Regions from separate parts of the Homo sapiens genome. Here region 2 is linked to region 1. The links are contacts of gene promoters, found by promoter capture Hi-C in human tissues and cell types (Jung and others, 2019). All regions are on one chromosome and are shown on one strand. The core of a region is centred on a gene start or on the middle of the fragment in contact, and the rest is flanking DNA. Distances in the headings are between cores, read along the strand shown. Region 1 holds the start of PARP12 (poly(ADP-ribose) polymerase family member 12). Region 2 has its middle 49 kb from the start of KLRG2.

The links. Contacts are between HindIII fragments. The study calls those that stand out against the background at their distance.
Region 2: a fragment that was not itself captured here is called in contact with the fragment with the promoter of PARP12 in region 1 in 1 of the 25 tissues and cell types used here (lymphoblastoid cells).

The regions. Positions count from the first base shown.
Region 1 is chr7:140,060,198-140,067,482 of GRCh38, reverse strand. PARP12 (poly(ADP-ribose) polymerase family member 12) reads left to right here and starts at 4,532. Exons shown (of 12, transcript NM_022750.4): 1 at 4,532-4,961. The coding sequence starts at 4,636. RefSeq lists an enhancer at 4,385-4,594 and a silencer at 4,605-4,924. The HindIII fragment of the contact is 11,268 bases long and covers 1-7,285 here.
Region 2 is chr7:139,431,122-139,438,320 of GRCh38, reverse strand. It overlaps a transcript of KLRG2 not described here. Among named protein-coding and RNA genes, the nearest start is that of KLRG2, 49 kb to the left of the region's middle. The HindIII fragment of the contact is 9,179 bases long and covers 1-7,199 here.

The sequences.
Region 1 (7,285 bases), core at 3,283-5,782:
TGTGTAGTTACCTTTACTGGTGCTTTTCTTTCTTCATGAGAATTCCAGTTGCTGTTTAGTGTCTTTCACTTTCAGCCCAAACGACTCTCTTTAGTGTTTCTCCCAGTGCTAGCAACTAACGGGCTCAGCTTTAGTTTATCTGGGAATATCTTAATTTCTCCTTCATTTCTGAAAGATAGTTTTGCTGGATATAAAATTCTTGGTTGATTCTTTTCACATTTTGAATACATCATCACACTACCCTCTGCATGCATGGTTTTTGATGAGAAGTTAACTGTTTTTATTTTATTGTTGATTCCTTGTGCATGATGAGTTGCTACTTTCTTGCTGCTTTCAAGATTCTCTTTGTTTTCAAAAGTTTGATTATGATGTGTCTAGGTGTAGATCTATTTGAGTTTTTCCTACTTGGAATTCATTAAGCTTCTTGGATGTGTAGATTAATGTTTTTCATCAAATCTGAGAAATTTTAGCCAAAATTTCTTCATATATTCTCGCTTTCCTTTCTCTCTCTCTCTTCTCCTTCTAAGACTTCCATTTTGTGTTATTGGTATATCTGATGGTGTCCCACAGGTCTCTGAGGCTCTTTTCATTTTTCTTTTTCGTTTCTGTTCCACAGACCAGATAATCATCAATTGATCTATCTTCAAGTTTGCTGATTTTTTTTTTCTTTCGCATGCTCAAATCTGCTGCTGAACCCTTCTAGTGAATTTAACATTTCAGTTATTGTACTTTTTGGCTCCAGAACCTTTATTGGTTCCTTATTATAATTTCTGTGTCTTTATTAATATTCTGTTTGGCAAGGCATCATTCTCATCCTTTCTTTTACATTTTTAGAGATGGTTTCCTTTAGCTCTGTGAACATATCAAAAATAGCTGATTTACACTCTTTGTCTACAAAGTTCAGCATCTGGGTTTTCTTAGGAACAGTTTTTATTGATTGCTCTTATTTCCTTTGTATGGGTCTTACTTTCTTGTTTCTTTGCAAGTCACATAATTTTTAGTTGAAAATTGGACATTTCAAACAATGTGCCAACTCTCAAAGTCAGATACTCCTCTCTCCTCAGGGTTTGATTGTGCTTATTTTAGTATTAGGTTGGTGCAAAAATAATTGCGGTTTGCACCAACCTAATAGTTGCTGTTTAGTAACTTTTTTGAACTAATTTTTTAAAGTGTGTATCTTCATTGTGTGTGACTATTGAAGTCTCTACTTGGTCAACTAATGATTAGATGGAGATTTCCTTAAACACCTGGAACCAATATGTCTCCTAGTCTTTGCCAAGGGGCTCTGTATGCACTTTGGGGTATGTCTTCAATTTTCATTAGGCAGTTTGCAACTCTGCATAGCTTTTATTTCCTGCTAGCACAGAGCCTCAGTGTCAGCTAGTAGTGAGAGGTTAGGATCTTCTCAGGTGTTAACAGAGCATGTGCACAGCCCTACACATGCACATGGCCTTCTAAATTCCTGAAAATATACTGGAGCTTTTCAAAGCCCCTATGGACATCTCTTCCTTCAACGTTTCCTTTTACATTTCTTTGTTAGTCTATTGTTTGCCCCTACCGTTACCTATTGCCTCAGCCAGTTACAATGTTAAAATATTTGACAAATCACTCCCTCTTCAGGTGGAAAAACCTTTAGGACTGAGCTAGTTCCAAAGAGGTTGAATAAAGACAACCCTTTTCAGGATTTTTTTCCAGGGACCCACTAGATAGGTTAAATAATGACTCTTCTTTGGGAATGAGACTTTGAAGTAGCTCCAGCCCTGTCTCCTCCCTCTGGTACAGGTACTAGGAACGTGGGCTGTAAGTTTTCAAGGCTGCCATGGAACTAGAGATGGGGGTGCGATAGGACTAGGGTAAATTAAAATACTATAAATATTGCTGTTCTTACTGAGAGTTTGCTGTTTTTCCTGACTAAATGCCAGATGGGTTGCTGCAAACCTGTGACTAATTTCTAGGGCTCTAAGAAAGTTGATTCTGACAATTTTTGTCAGTTCTTTCCTTGCTTCCTTTATGGAAGGGCAAACTTGCTGGGATACTTAATCCACCATTTTCACTGACATCACTCTTCCTTTCTTTTTTAAAAAATGTTATTTTATTGCAAAAAAATATGGAAACCACAACTAAAATTAACTTTTTTTTTGAGACGGAGTCTTGCTCTGTTGCCCAGGCTGGAGTGCAACGGTGCGATCTTGACTCACTGCAACCTCCGCCTCCCTGGTTCAAACGATTTTCCTGCCTCAGCCTCCCAGGTAGCTGGGATTACAGGCACACACCATCACACCTGGCTAATTTTTGTATTTTTAGGAGAGATGGGGTTTCACCAAGTTGGCCAGGCTGGTCTTGAACTCCTGACCTCAAGTGATCCACCCACCTCGGCCTCCCAAAATGCTGGGATTACATGCGTGAGCCACTGCACTCTGCCTAACATTTTAAATTAAAAATTAACATTTTAGGCTAGGCGTGGTGGCTCACTGTAATCCCAGCACTTTAGGAATCTGAGGTGGGAGGACTGCTTGAGGCCAGGAGTTCAAGATCAGCCTGGGCAACAAATGAGACAGTGTCTCTACAAAAAAATATAAAAATTATCTGGGCATGGTGGCACGTGCCTCTAGGCCCAGCTACTTGGGAGGCTAAGGTGGAAGGTTCGCTTGAGCCCAGAAGTTCCAGGTTGTAGTGAGCTATGACTGTACCATTATACTACAGCCTGGGTGACAGACCAAGACCTTGTCTCTAAAACAATAACAAAAACAAAATTAACATTTTATACAATGAAAACATTAAAATCACAATTAAAATCCAAGAGAAAACCCTTCATTCAATTTCCTAATTAAATAAATTCATTTTCATTTGTCCATGTTACTATCTAGTCTTTATCCATACACTTATTATTTACATTTTTGTAGTAATAGTACAGGTAATTTTTTTTTTTTTTTTAAAGATGGAGTCTCACTCTGTCGCCCAGGCTGGAGTGCAGTGTCATGATCTCCGCTCACTGCAATCTCTGCCTCCCGGATTCAAGCGATTCTCCTGCCTGTCTCCCGAGTAGCTGGGATTACTGGCGCCCGTTACCACGCCCGGCTAATTTTTACGTTTTTAGCAGAGACGGGGTTTCACCACGTTGGCCAGGCTGGTCTCAAACTACTGACCTCAAGTGATCCGCCCGCCTTGACCTCCCAAAGTGCTGGGATTACAGGCGTGAGCCACTGTGCCTGGCCTATAGTTAAGATTTTTATATTCATTTTTAGTGAATGTTATACCGTATACCGTAAGTACTCTCCCCCCACAATCCTTCTGCCTCTCATCTTCCCTTTTCCATTTTCCTAATACCTCCTACTGCCTCCTCTCAACTACCCTTGTGTGTTTCTTCATCTTTCTCCGTGCTTATTCAAAAATATCCTGCCACACACACACACACAGGCTTCTCTTTTTGTTATTCAGACATTTAAAAAAATTAATTCTTGATCATTCAACTTGATTATTTAGACATTTCTGTACAGCCATCTTTTCTCGTTTACCACCACATCATGGCTGTCTGCCCCTCTACATCCGCACACGGAGCTCTAACGCATGCTTGTTAAACAGCCTTCGTAATAGTCTTTAAAGATCAACCACACTGTTCCCACGTAACCCTACCTCCCAGGTAGGGTTCCCCCAGTAACACTTTCACACATAACTTATTTACTGTTCCTTTTACTTCTGGAAGATTCCGAGAGGAAAGATTGCTGGGTCAAAGGTCACACGCGTTTTCAATTTTAATAGCTATTCCTGGATTACCTCCTCAAAGGGCTCTAACAACTCGCATTGCTCTCAGCGTGTGAGAGGGTCCTTTGCTCTGAAGGGTCTTCTAAAATATTTGTTCAATCGTTACTTAGCAGGGGCTGGGAGTAACGGATTTTATTTTATTTTATTTTATTTTTTGAGACGGAGTCTCGCTCTGTCGCCCAGGCTGGAGTGCAGTCGCGCAATCTCGGCTCACGGATTTGCTCTTTTAAAGGACATACCCTTTTATGTTTAAATGAAGGAACTCATTGATGCACCGAGGCGAAAGGAACCTTTAATTAAGTGCGTCTTCTATGCGGAGTGATCGCTTTTGTCACTTGTTCGAGGGGTGAGAGCTCCCGTCAGTTGTCCCTGTTTCTGTGAGCCGTCTACGAAGCCCGGGCTTGGCCTGGGCGACGCTGAGCGGCTTTAACCGGCGGCGTCCAGCCGGCTCCGCCAGCGCTGCCGCCGCCCTCGAGGCTCCCTCTGACTGAAGGCGCGCTGAGCATCGCGGCATTAGGGGCTCCTGGTCCCTCAAACATCCAGGGAAGCCATTTTCAGGGACTAGGTACTGACCCCCGCGAGCCGCCACAGCCACAGCCCGCGCTCCGGGCCGAACGCCCGAGCTCAAGAGCTCCCGAGCTTCCGTCGGGCGGCGGCCTCACAGCTGGGGGCCCTGAGGCGGAAGGCGCAGCCGCTCAGCTGCGGACCGGGGGCGTGGCGAGGGCGCACAGGTTCTGTTTTTCGCCGGCCCGGGGCCGCTTTCGGTTTCGTTTCCCGCCGGCGTCTCCACCCTGCGAGAGCCGCCCGCCAGCCAGCGTCCGCCGCCGTCCGCGTCGCGCCACCCGCGGTCCGACGGGAGCAGGCCCAGCGGCCATGGCCCAGGCCGGCGTCGTCGGTGAGGTCACCCAGGTGCTGTGCGCGGCCGGGGGCGCCCTGGAGTTGCCCGAGCTGCGGCGCCGCTTGCGGATGGGCTTGAGCGCCGACGCGCTGGAGCGGCTGCTGCGGCAGCGTGGGCGCTTCGTGGTGGCGGTGCGGGCGGGCGGCGCAGCCGCGGCCCCGGAGCGCGTGGTGCTGGCCGCCTCGCCGCTGCGCCTGTGTCGCGCGCACCAGGGCTCCAAGCCGGGCTGCGTGGGGCTCTGCGCGCAGCTCCACCTCTGCAGGTTCATGGTCTACGGCGCCTGCAAGTTCCTGAGAGCCGGGTAAGGCGCCGCGCCGGGAGCGACGGCGGGCGGAGGTCCTGCGCGCCCTCACGCACTTCCAGCCCGCTTGGGGGTCCTACTTGAAGTTTGAGCAGACAATTCGGTGGCTCTGCCCTGACCTCGCACCGTCATTCACTAAAGCGAGCGTTTAATGAGCACCTGCGGAGTACCTGGCACAGTGCGAGGGACTCAGGGTCGAGTGGGGTCCTCTAGACGCCTGGGGGGAGAGAGTGATTTACATAGAGCATGGTAGTGCCGGGTGGAACACCCGGGTGTGGCCGTGTGGGGTGGGGAGGGAGGGAGGCGGCGGCTTAGGGGAACTCCACGACGCCGCGGGTCGCCCCTTGCCAGCTTTGAGGCCAGACAATGAAGGTTTTCTCTGCCCAGCAGCTGGTAGAGATCTTTAAACCCAGTTCAACCCTATTAATCTGCTTACAAACTGGAAAATGCAGACTCCCTGCCATCGCCCACAAGGTCCTGGGGCACTGGTCCCTGCCCACCCAGGACCCTTCTGTGACTGGAACACCCCCCCCCCCCCGGGCATTTCTGGGAGCCTGGGCATTTCTGGGAGTCTTTGCTCTGCCTGGAATGCCCTTCTTGCTCTTGGTTGGCCCTATTTGTTAATCCTTCAGGCCTCAACCTAAAGATCACATCCCATTTGAGGATTTTTCCTCCCCTTACTCTTGGTCACAGGGAACTGTTTATTTTCCTCATGGCACCCAGCTGCCAGTAGAATAGAAACTCCCTGAGGGCAGAGGCTCCAGCTGTCTCCCCAGCACTTAGCGTCCATGTTCTGTGCATAGCATGTGGCCAGTGGGATGTGTGGAAGGGATTGCTGAGGTTTATGCTAAAGAATTTGGGCCTCACCCTGGAGGTGATGGGGCGGGTAAAATGGCAGGAGAGAGCAACCATCAGGTTTGCGTTTTAGGAAGTCTAAGGTAGTGGTGTGGGTGCCAATTTAAGGGAGGATGTTGTGGGGGAACCACTGGGAAGCTAGTCATCAAGGAGAATTCCTTCCTCCCCTGCTCCCTCCTTTCTTGCTTGCTCCCTGTTTTGTGTGTGTGTGTGTATGTTTGTCTTAATAGAGTAGATATTTCTTGCTCATGTCAGGCCCAGTAGTGAGCATGGGGTGGGGGCCTTGATCCATACAGTCATTCAGGGATGCAGGCTGACTGACCTCCGCTCTGTGCCCCTCAGCACATGGCTCTTGAGGCCAGCCTAGGTTATCAAGTTCGAGGGGGCTGATCGAAAAGAGGGATGCATGGGAGGTTTTTGTGGGCCAGGTCTAGAAGTGGTGGATTTCCTTTCACCCACATCCCATTGACCAGAAGCTGTCTCGTGACCCTGTCTAGATGCAGGGTGACTGGGAAATGCCTCTAGGAAGCAGCTGTCTGGAAGTATCTAGATTAGAGCTTTCCAAGGGCTATGTGTGTGAGAAATTTGGGATAGCTGGTGACGGTGTGATGAGAGGATATGTGAGAGGTGACGACTCTTCAGTCTCTGTTCCTGCGGTGGCCTGGGTGTTGTTCACTGAGAGAGCAAGAGAGGGTTTTAGTTTGGAAGCATGCCCAGGAGGCAGCTGTTCAGGTCAGAAGCTTGGGAGGAAGGCCAGGGCCCCAATGCGCTGGGCTGGTTTGGGAGATATTGGGCGGTGTATGTTGTAGTTGCAGCCCCAGGAGTGGATCAGATCTGAGGTAGCGTCTGAGGCCTGAAAAGAGGCTGAGGGTGGAACTCTGGGGAAATCAGCCTTCAGGGATGAGGCAGTCCAGGGGAGAGCAGGGAACAACAGCCCACGAGGAGGAAGGCACACAGCAAATGGTGGCTGGATAGAGCCACTCATGGGGGTAACTGGTAGATCTGTTTCATGTTCATATTTGGTAAAATAAAGATGGCAGCCCTGTTCTTAAGCTAGTTCCCAAAATGTGGGGTCAGGTCTGACTTGTCTCGGAAATCTGTAGTGTGATATTTACTGGCTCAGATGACCTTGAGTTTTCTTCTTTCTTCAGTTTTCTCTTTTCCTTGTGGTTTACACAGGTGAGTTTCTTGAACCTTCCATTTCTGACTCACTTTAGGGAGAGTGGGTGTGGTTGGCTGCACTTTTCTGCTTCCCCTGTGACTCTGCTTGTCTTCCTGAACCGCAGGGTCAGTTCTTTTAGAAATAGCTCATCAGTCCTGCTGCAGAGCTGGTACGGAGTCCTGGGTGCCTGACTCTTAGTCCTCTACTCAGGAGGCATTGAGCCTGGTGGTCTAGGGCACAGTCCCAAGATCCAGCCCACCTTGTTTCAACCTGGGCTCTGCTCCTTGCTAGCTGATGGCTTCGGGCA
Region 2 (7,199 bases), core at 1,456-3,955, 630 kb after region 1:
GTTCAAGGCTGTAGTGAGCTACAATCACACCACTGCACTCTAGTCTGGGTGACAAAGTGAGACACCTCCATCTCAAAAATAAATAAAACTGCATTTCTGAACAATACACGTTTGTTTGGCCGGCTCCACCAATCTCAGCTGGGCTCCCCTACATCTGCAAGTTGGCTTGGGTGGCCTTCTCTAGCCCGGCCTTGGCTGGAGCAGCCCTGTTCCGTGTGTCCTTCATTGTCCTCCAGCTACTGGGATAGGCAGACATAGTCTTATGACAATGGCAAGAGAGCCAAAAGAAACACGCAGGCCTTTTGAGGCCTAGGTCAGAACTGACACACCATTCTTTCCCCAACAGGCCACTAGCTGGAGCCACAGAAACAGCCAAACTCAGTGGGCAGGGGTGGGGGAGTCCAGCCAGTCCTGAAGTAGATGAAGCTGCAGGCTCAGGTGGCAAAGGGCATGGATGCAGGGAGAGGCAAAGAACTGGACCAGAGATGATCTCAAACACACAATCCCTCCTGTGAATGTTTCACAATTTATGCCTAATAACTCGTAGAAAAATGACTAATGATGGCCGGGTGCGGTGGCTCACGCCTGTAATCCCAGCACTTTGGGAGGCTGAGGCAGGTGGATCACCTGAGGTCAGGAGTTGGAGACCAGCATGGCCAATGTGGCAAAACCCCATCTGTACTGAAAATACAAAAAATTAGCCATGTGTGGTGGTACATGCCTGTAATTCCAGCTACTCAGGAAGCTGAGGCATGAGAATTGCTTGAACCTGGGAGACAGTGGTTGTAGTAAGCTGAGATCATGCCACTGCATTCCAGCCTGGGCAACAGAGCGAGACTCTGTCTCAAACAAACAAACTAATGATGAATTTTTTTTTTTTTTTTTTTTTTTTTTTGGAGATGGAGTCTCCCTCAGCTGCCCGGGCTGGAGTGCAGTAGTGTAATCTTGGCTTACTGCAACCACCGTCTCCTGGGTTCAAGCGATTCTCCCATCTCAGCCTCCCGAGTAGCTGGGACTACAGGCACCCGCCATCATGCCTGGCTAATTTTTGTATTTTAGTAAAGATGGGTTTCGCCATGTTGGCCAGGCTGGTCTTGAACTCCTGACCTCAGCTGATCCACCTGCCTCGGCCTCCCAAAGGGCTAGGATTACAGGCATGAGCCACTGCGCCTGGCCAAATCATTCATTTCTTGAATATCTGTAGGAAGAGTCTAGAGGCTGGGTCTGTCAGTTCTGCACAGTGGCGTCTTTCTCACAGATGGCATTTCCCACTTCACAGGGTGTTAAGTTGTTCTTCGTCCCCTGTCAAGCTCCGGCCTCACCTCAAACCCGTAAGGTCCTTGCACACACAGTCCGGGTGAGGCTGTGAGGATCCAAGGACACCGAGTGAAGTGAGGGCAGCAGGACCCAGTGCCTGGCCATTCTAGCTGGGACTGGCCACCTGGCAGTGTCGTAGCCAACATCTGTGGTGACTCTGCCATGCCCCAGGTAGTGTGTGTGAACAGTTTACATATAGAGCGCATGGAATTTCCACAATGACCCAGTACATTAGTGGGTTAGTTTGGCTTTTAGTAACAAAAACCCAATTCCAAGCTGCCTACGCAAGAAAGAGAAATGATTAGAAGACTCAGGAGGGCCTTAGAGAGGCCAAGAGTAGGGATACAACTGGGCTTGGGACTGGCTGGAGCCGGGCTCCTCATGTCCTGCCTCGACCCCTCTTCCTGTGCCTGGGTCACTTGCTTCTGCGGTGGCCAGCTTTATCATGGCGGCACATGGCCACTAACAGCTGTCAACTTCCGTGACATCCTCAGTTCAAGAGAACAGCCAGTCCAAGCTAGAAACTAGTCCCAAGGAAGGACTGGGATTGTTTTAAACAGGCTCAGGCACCCGCCTCTGGACCACTAAGCTGTCACTGTTACCAGTGTGGAAACGTCCACATTGACTAAAACATTCGTGTGACTGCAGAGGTGTGAAGGGGGGGGTTCCCTAGACAGTGGGGGAAGGGCAGACGGAACAGCAGCAGTCTTCTTCCATGCTTGCGTTTTTATTTCCATTTAATAGATGAGACTCGAGGAAAAAAATGCGCAGGTAGAGTGTGCGGGTTAAGAGTACAGACCCGGCCAGGCACAATGGCTCATGCTTGTAATCCCACCACTTTGGGAGCCTGAGGTGGGCAGATCACTCGAGGTCAGGAGTTCGAGACCAGCCTGGCCAACATGGTGAAACCCTGTCTCTACTAAAAAATACACAAATTAGCCGGGTATGGTGGTGCATACCTGTAATCCCAGCTACTTGGGAGGCTGAGACAGGAGAATCACTTGAACATGGGAGGTGGAGGTTGCAATGAGCCAAGATTGTGCCATTGCACTCCAGCCTGGGTGACAGAGCAAGACCCTATCTCAAAAAAAAAAAAAATTACAGGCCCTATATAAGATCTGAATAGACACTTCACCAAAAAGATACACAAAAAGCAAATAAACACATGACTTTAAGTGGGTAAGCGGCGGGGCACCCTTACAATGGATTCTACTCAATGTGAAAAGGTGGGATGTGCTGATGCACACAGCACGGGTGAGTCTCAGCAGCATCGTGTTAAGGGAAGGAAGTCGGCATGAAAGTCTGTATGCCAATAACTCCATTTATATAAAGTTCTAGAGAAGATAAAGCTCATGCTAGAGAGATCAGTGGTTGCCGGGGCCAGAGGTTTGAGGAGAGGATTGGGAGAGGCCAGGAGAGAATTTGTGGGGAGATGGAACTATTCTATATCATGATTGCAGTGGTGGGATACATTTGTCAACTTACTGTATGCTTAAAATTGGTGATTTTTTTTTGAGACGGAGTCTCGCTCTGTCACCCAGGCTGGAGTGCAGTGGCACAATCTTGGCTCACTGCAACCTCTACCTTCAGGGTTCAAGCGATTCTCCTGCCTCACCCTCCCGAATAGCTGGGATTACAGGTGCCTGCCACCATGCCGGCTAATTTTTTGTGTTTTTGGTAGAGATGGGGCTTCACCATGTTGGCCAGGCTGGTCTCGAACTCCTGACCTCAAGTGATCCACTCCCCTCGGCCTCCCAAAGTGCTGGGATTACAGGCGTGAGCCACTGCGCCCAGCCGAAATTGGTGAATTTTATTGTGGGAAAATTAAATCTCAATAAAGTTTTTTTAAGAAAGGTAGCCATTATCATTTTTAGGCATCTCTTACAGGTTTTGCCTTTGAATAAACGCAATAAAAATAAAGTAGTAGGTCCTGGGGTTAATCTAAACTACATTCAACTCCCCCAGGCCCTATCATGATACCTTGAGTACCTTTTTGACTTTTTTAAGCCTCAGCAATCTCATCTGTAAGTCTGGAGATGGTAACTTCTAGCTTATAGATTTATTGTTGTGAAGGACGAAGAGATGATGTGGATAACTCCTCAGTGCTGGGGTTATCTAGTCTGACTTTGGTAAATGTATTATTATCGCTTCCCAAGGGCACACAGCTTCTAAGTGGCAGATTCAGGGCTCAAACCGAAGTCTGTTTTCAAACCCTAGCTCCTGGCCGCCCGCGCCGCACCGCCTCACTAGCGCCCTCTTGCGCTAGTTCTATGCTCCAAGCACACTTCGGATTCTTTGACTTCCCCTGTAAGAACACAGCGTGCTGATCAACAAACCAGAGCATCTGCTTCTATTTATAACTCTAAGTAGAAAATTGACATTCAGCTTTTATAAATACTTTTAAAAAACAGGAACAGGCTGCAAGTCTTTTGATTTGGAAACTCTTGAGTAGCAAGGAGAAGGCTCAGAAGGCCACAAGGAATCCATACTGCTTACAGAGGGAGGGAGGGCAGGCTTTGGCCCCAGCAACTCATCAAGATGACTGCCGTGTAAAGGGGCTTGGCTGTTGATGCTCCCAGCCAAGGAAGGAAGGTAGGTGGCCAGTGCCTCCAGCTGTAAGCAGAAGCCCGGGTGTCACTGGTTGGGAGTAAGAGAAGGAGAATGAGAACAAACCATGGTGATAAGTTGGTTCTGAATTATGACCAGGCAAAGGGTGGGAGAACTGTGGCCACATTTGAGCTCTGATAAGAGCAAAGCTGGAATCTTAAATATTTAGACGCGGAGCCCTAAAGGATGTACTTGACAAGCAATAAAAATCTTAGAAACACTTTAGTGATTCTCACGGCTTGCTTCTTATTCCAACTGCAAATTAACCTGGCAGTCTGAGAACATACTCTATTTTAACTTCCAAGCTCCTCACAGCAAACATCCTGTGTCTGGGACATCAGGAGCCTTTCAGCTCCTCCCAGCCTCAGGGCCAAGTACCACAGGCTCAGGGCTCCCCAGGGACAGGTGCTGGCTGGAATCGCCTGTGAGGTTAAAAAACGCACGTGATGCTGGGCGTGATGCTGGGCGCGGTGGCTCACACTGAAGTGCTCCCAGCACTTTGGGAGGCCGAGGCGGGGGATCACTTGAGGTCAGGAGTTCGAGACCAGCCTGGCCAACATGGTTGAAACCCTGTCTCTACTAAAAATACAAAAATTAGCCTGGTGTAGTTGCAGGCACCTGTAATCCCGGCTATTCAGGAGGCTGAGGCAGAAGAATAACTTGAACCCCGGAGGTGGAGGTTGCATTCTCGGCAGTGAGGCGAGAATGTGCCACTGCACTCCAGCCTGGGTGACAGAGCAAGACTCCATCTCAAAAAAAAAAAAAAAAAAAGGCCGGGCGCAGTGGTTCACGCCTGTAATCCCAGCACTTTGGGAGGCCAAGGCAGGCTGATCACCTGAGGTTGGGAGTTCGAGACCAGCCTGACCAACATGGAGAAACCCCGTCTCTACTAAAAAATACAAAATTAGCCGGGTGTGGTGGCACATGCCTGTAATGCCAGCTACTCGGGAGACTGAGGCAGGAGAATCGCTTGAACTCGGGAAGTGGAGGTTGTGGTGAGCCAAGATTGTGCCATTGTACTCCAGCCTGTGCAACAAGAAATTACATCTCCAAAAAAACAAACAAACAAACAAACAAAAAAAAAACCACACACCACAGGTACTCAGACTCCTCCCAGGTGCAGGATTCAATCTGAGTAAGCCAAGGTAGTGGTAGGAGTGATCCCGGGGCCTGGAAATCTGGAACATTTTTGTTTTACTTGGTGAGGATGGAGACTGAGTGAAAGTCTGGTCTGCTATTCGAGAAAGCTACCATTGTCCCAAGTTGGCAAGCCAAGAAACAGCAGTATAAACATTATTTAGAACTATGAAAACAAATACAAGGAGGAACCACAGAAAGCACCTAAAGTGGTTCTAACCAGTGGTGTCCGAAGTCAGAATAGTGATTATCTTGAGAAGCGGGGACTATTAGCTTGGAAGGACCATCAGGGAACTTTCTAGGGTGCTGGAAATGGTCCGTATCTTGATCTGGGTGGGAGTTGGGTGTTGGCCCTCCCTATCCATGGATTCTGCGTCGGTGAATTCAACCAACCTTGGGTTTAAAATATTTGGGAGAAAATCATTTAAAAAAATACAAATGATATACAAACAATGTAACAACTGTTTACGTAGCATTTACATTGTATCAGGTGTTATAAGCAATGTAGAGGTGACTTAAAGTATACAGAGATGATATGCATAGGTTATGTGCAAATGCCACACCATTTTGTATGAGAGACTTGTGCACCCTCAGATGTGGCGCTTGAACCCAGGAAGCAGAGGCGGAGGCTGCACTGAACCGAGATCACACCACTGCACTCAGACCTGAGGAACAGTTAGATTCCGTCTCAAAAAAAAATATTGGGGGGGGGGGGTCCTGCAATCAATCCCCCATAGATACCGAGGAATGACCATACATATATAAAAACCCATCAAGCTGTACTCTCAAGATTGTGTATTTCGCCTGCATATAATTTAAACTCTGTAAATGTCTCCCTCCAAAGAGGAATCAGTTTACAGCGAGACTAGGCTGTAGGCAGACTTTTTTTTTTCTTTTTCTTTTTTCAAAGACAGAGTCCCTCTCTGTTGACTGGGCTGGAGTGCAGTGGTGTGATCACAGCTCACTGCAGTCTCATCCTGGGCGCCAGTGATCCTCCCGCCTCAGCCTCCCAAGCAGCTGGGAGTACGGGCACAGGCCACTGTGCCTGGCTAGATTTTAAATATTTTGTAGAGACAGGATCTCCCTTTGTTGCCTGTGTTGGGCTTGAACTCCTGGGCTCAAGCAATCCTCCTGCCTTAGCCTCTCAAAGTGCTGGAATTACAAGCGTGAGGCACCGTGCCTGGTCAGGACTGACTTTTTTTTTTTTAAAACATACATTTACAAACTTAAAACCATCTCCACCTTTTTAAAAAACACCATATTCATGTCTCCTTTGATAAAAATAGAAATTAGATGTTTTAAAAGGTCCACAAGAGTCTGGTGTACAGCCTGGGTTGAGAAGTTCTGACTTCAGAAATGCTTCCTGCAACTGCTTTTTAAAAATAGCTTCTAACCCTTTCTTTCACCAAGGTAAATTCTCATGAGTTTCAACCTCTACTTTAGAGCATACCTTTGCTTTCTACAAGCAGAAGTTTGAAGAGAAGAGCTACACAGTAGGTTGGTCTGCATGGAATTCCTCTACTTCTTCTAGTCTCTTCCCACCAGGCACTGCCAGCTGCTATTGTTTGAAACTGACACTCAACATTACCACCAGCCCCAGCTTATGTAGTGGAGCTTTTGAGGCCGGGCTCTGACTCAGGCTGGCCTAGCGGATCGCAGGCCACAGAAGAGCAGCTCTGGATATTTGGTTTTTCAGTAGGTCAGGCATGGGATGGGGGTCCCCAAACAAGGTCTTTCCCAATTTTCCTGGTAATTCTGATGCTGGTTGGTGGTCCAGAAGCCACATTTTGAGCTACCCTGCCTAAAAGAGTCCATACTGCCAACAGGAAAAAAAAAAAAGTGTATATATTTTCAATCAGATTTACTGAGGCATAATGAAGAAAGTGTATCTATTTTAAGACTGCCTTTTGACAAATGTAGGCACCCATGTAACTACTGCCAATCAAAATATGGAAGATTTCCAACACGCTAGAAAGTTCCCTCTCTGCCATTAATCCTTGGTCCTCCCTGAGGTCCGGCCCCAGGCAAACCTGCTTTCTGTCCCTAGAAACCAGTTTTGCCTGTTCTAGGATTTCACATAGAGAATTGATTGTACAGTATGTGTACTCTTTTGTGTCTCATTCCTTTAGCTCAGCTTT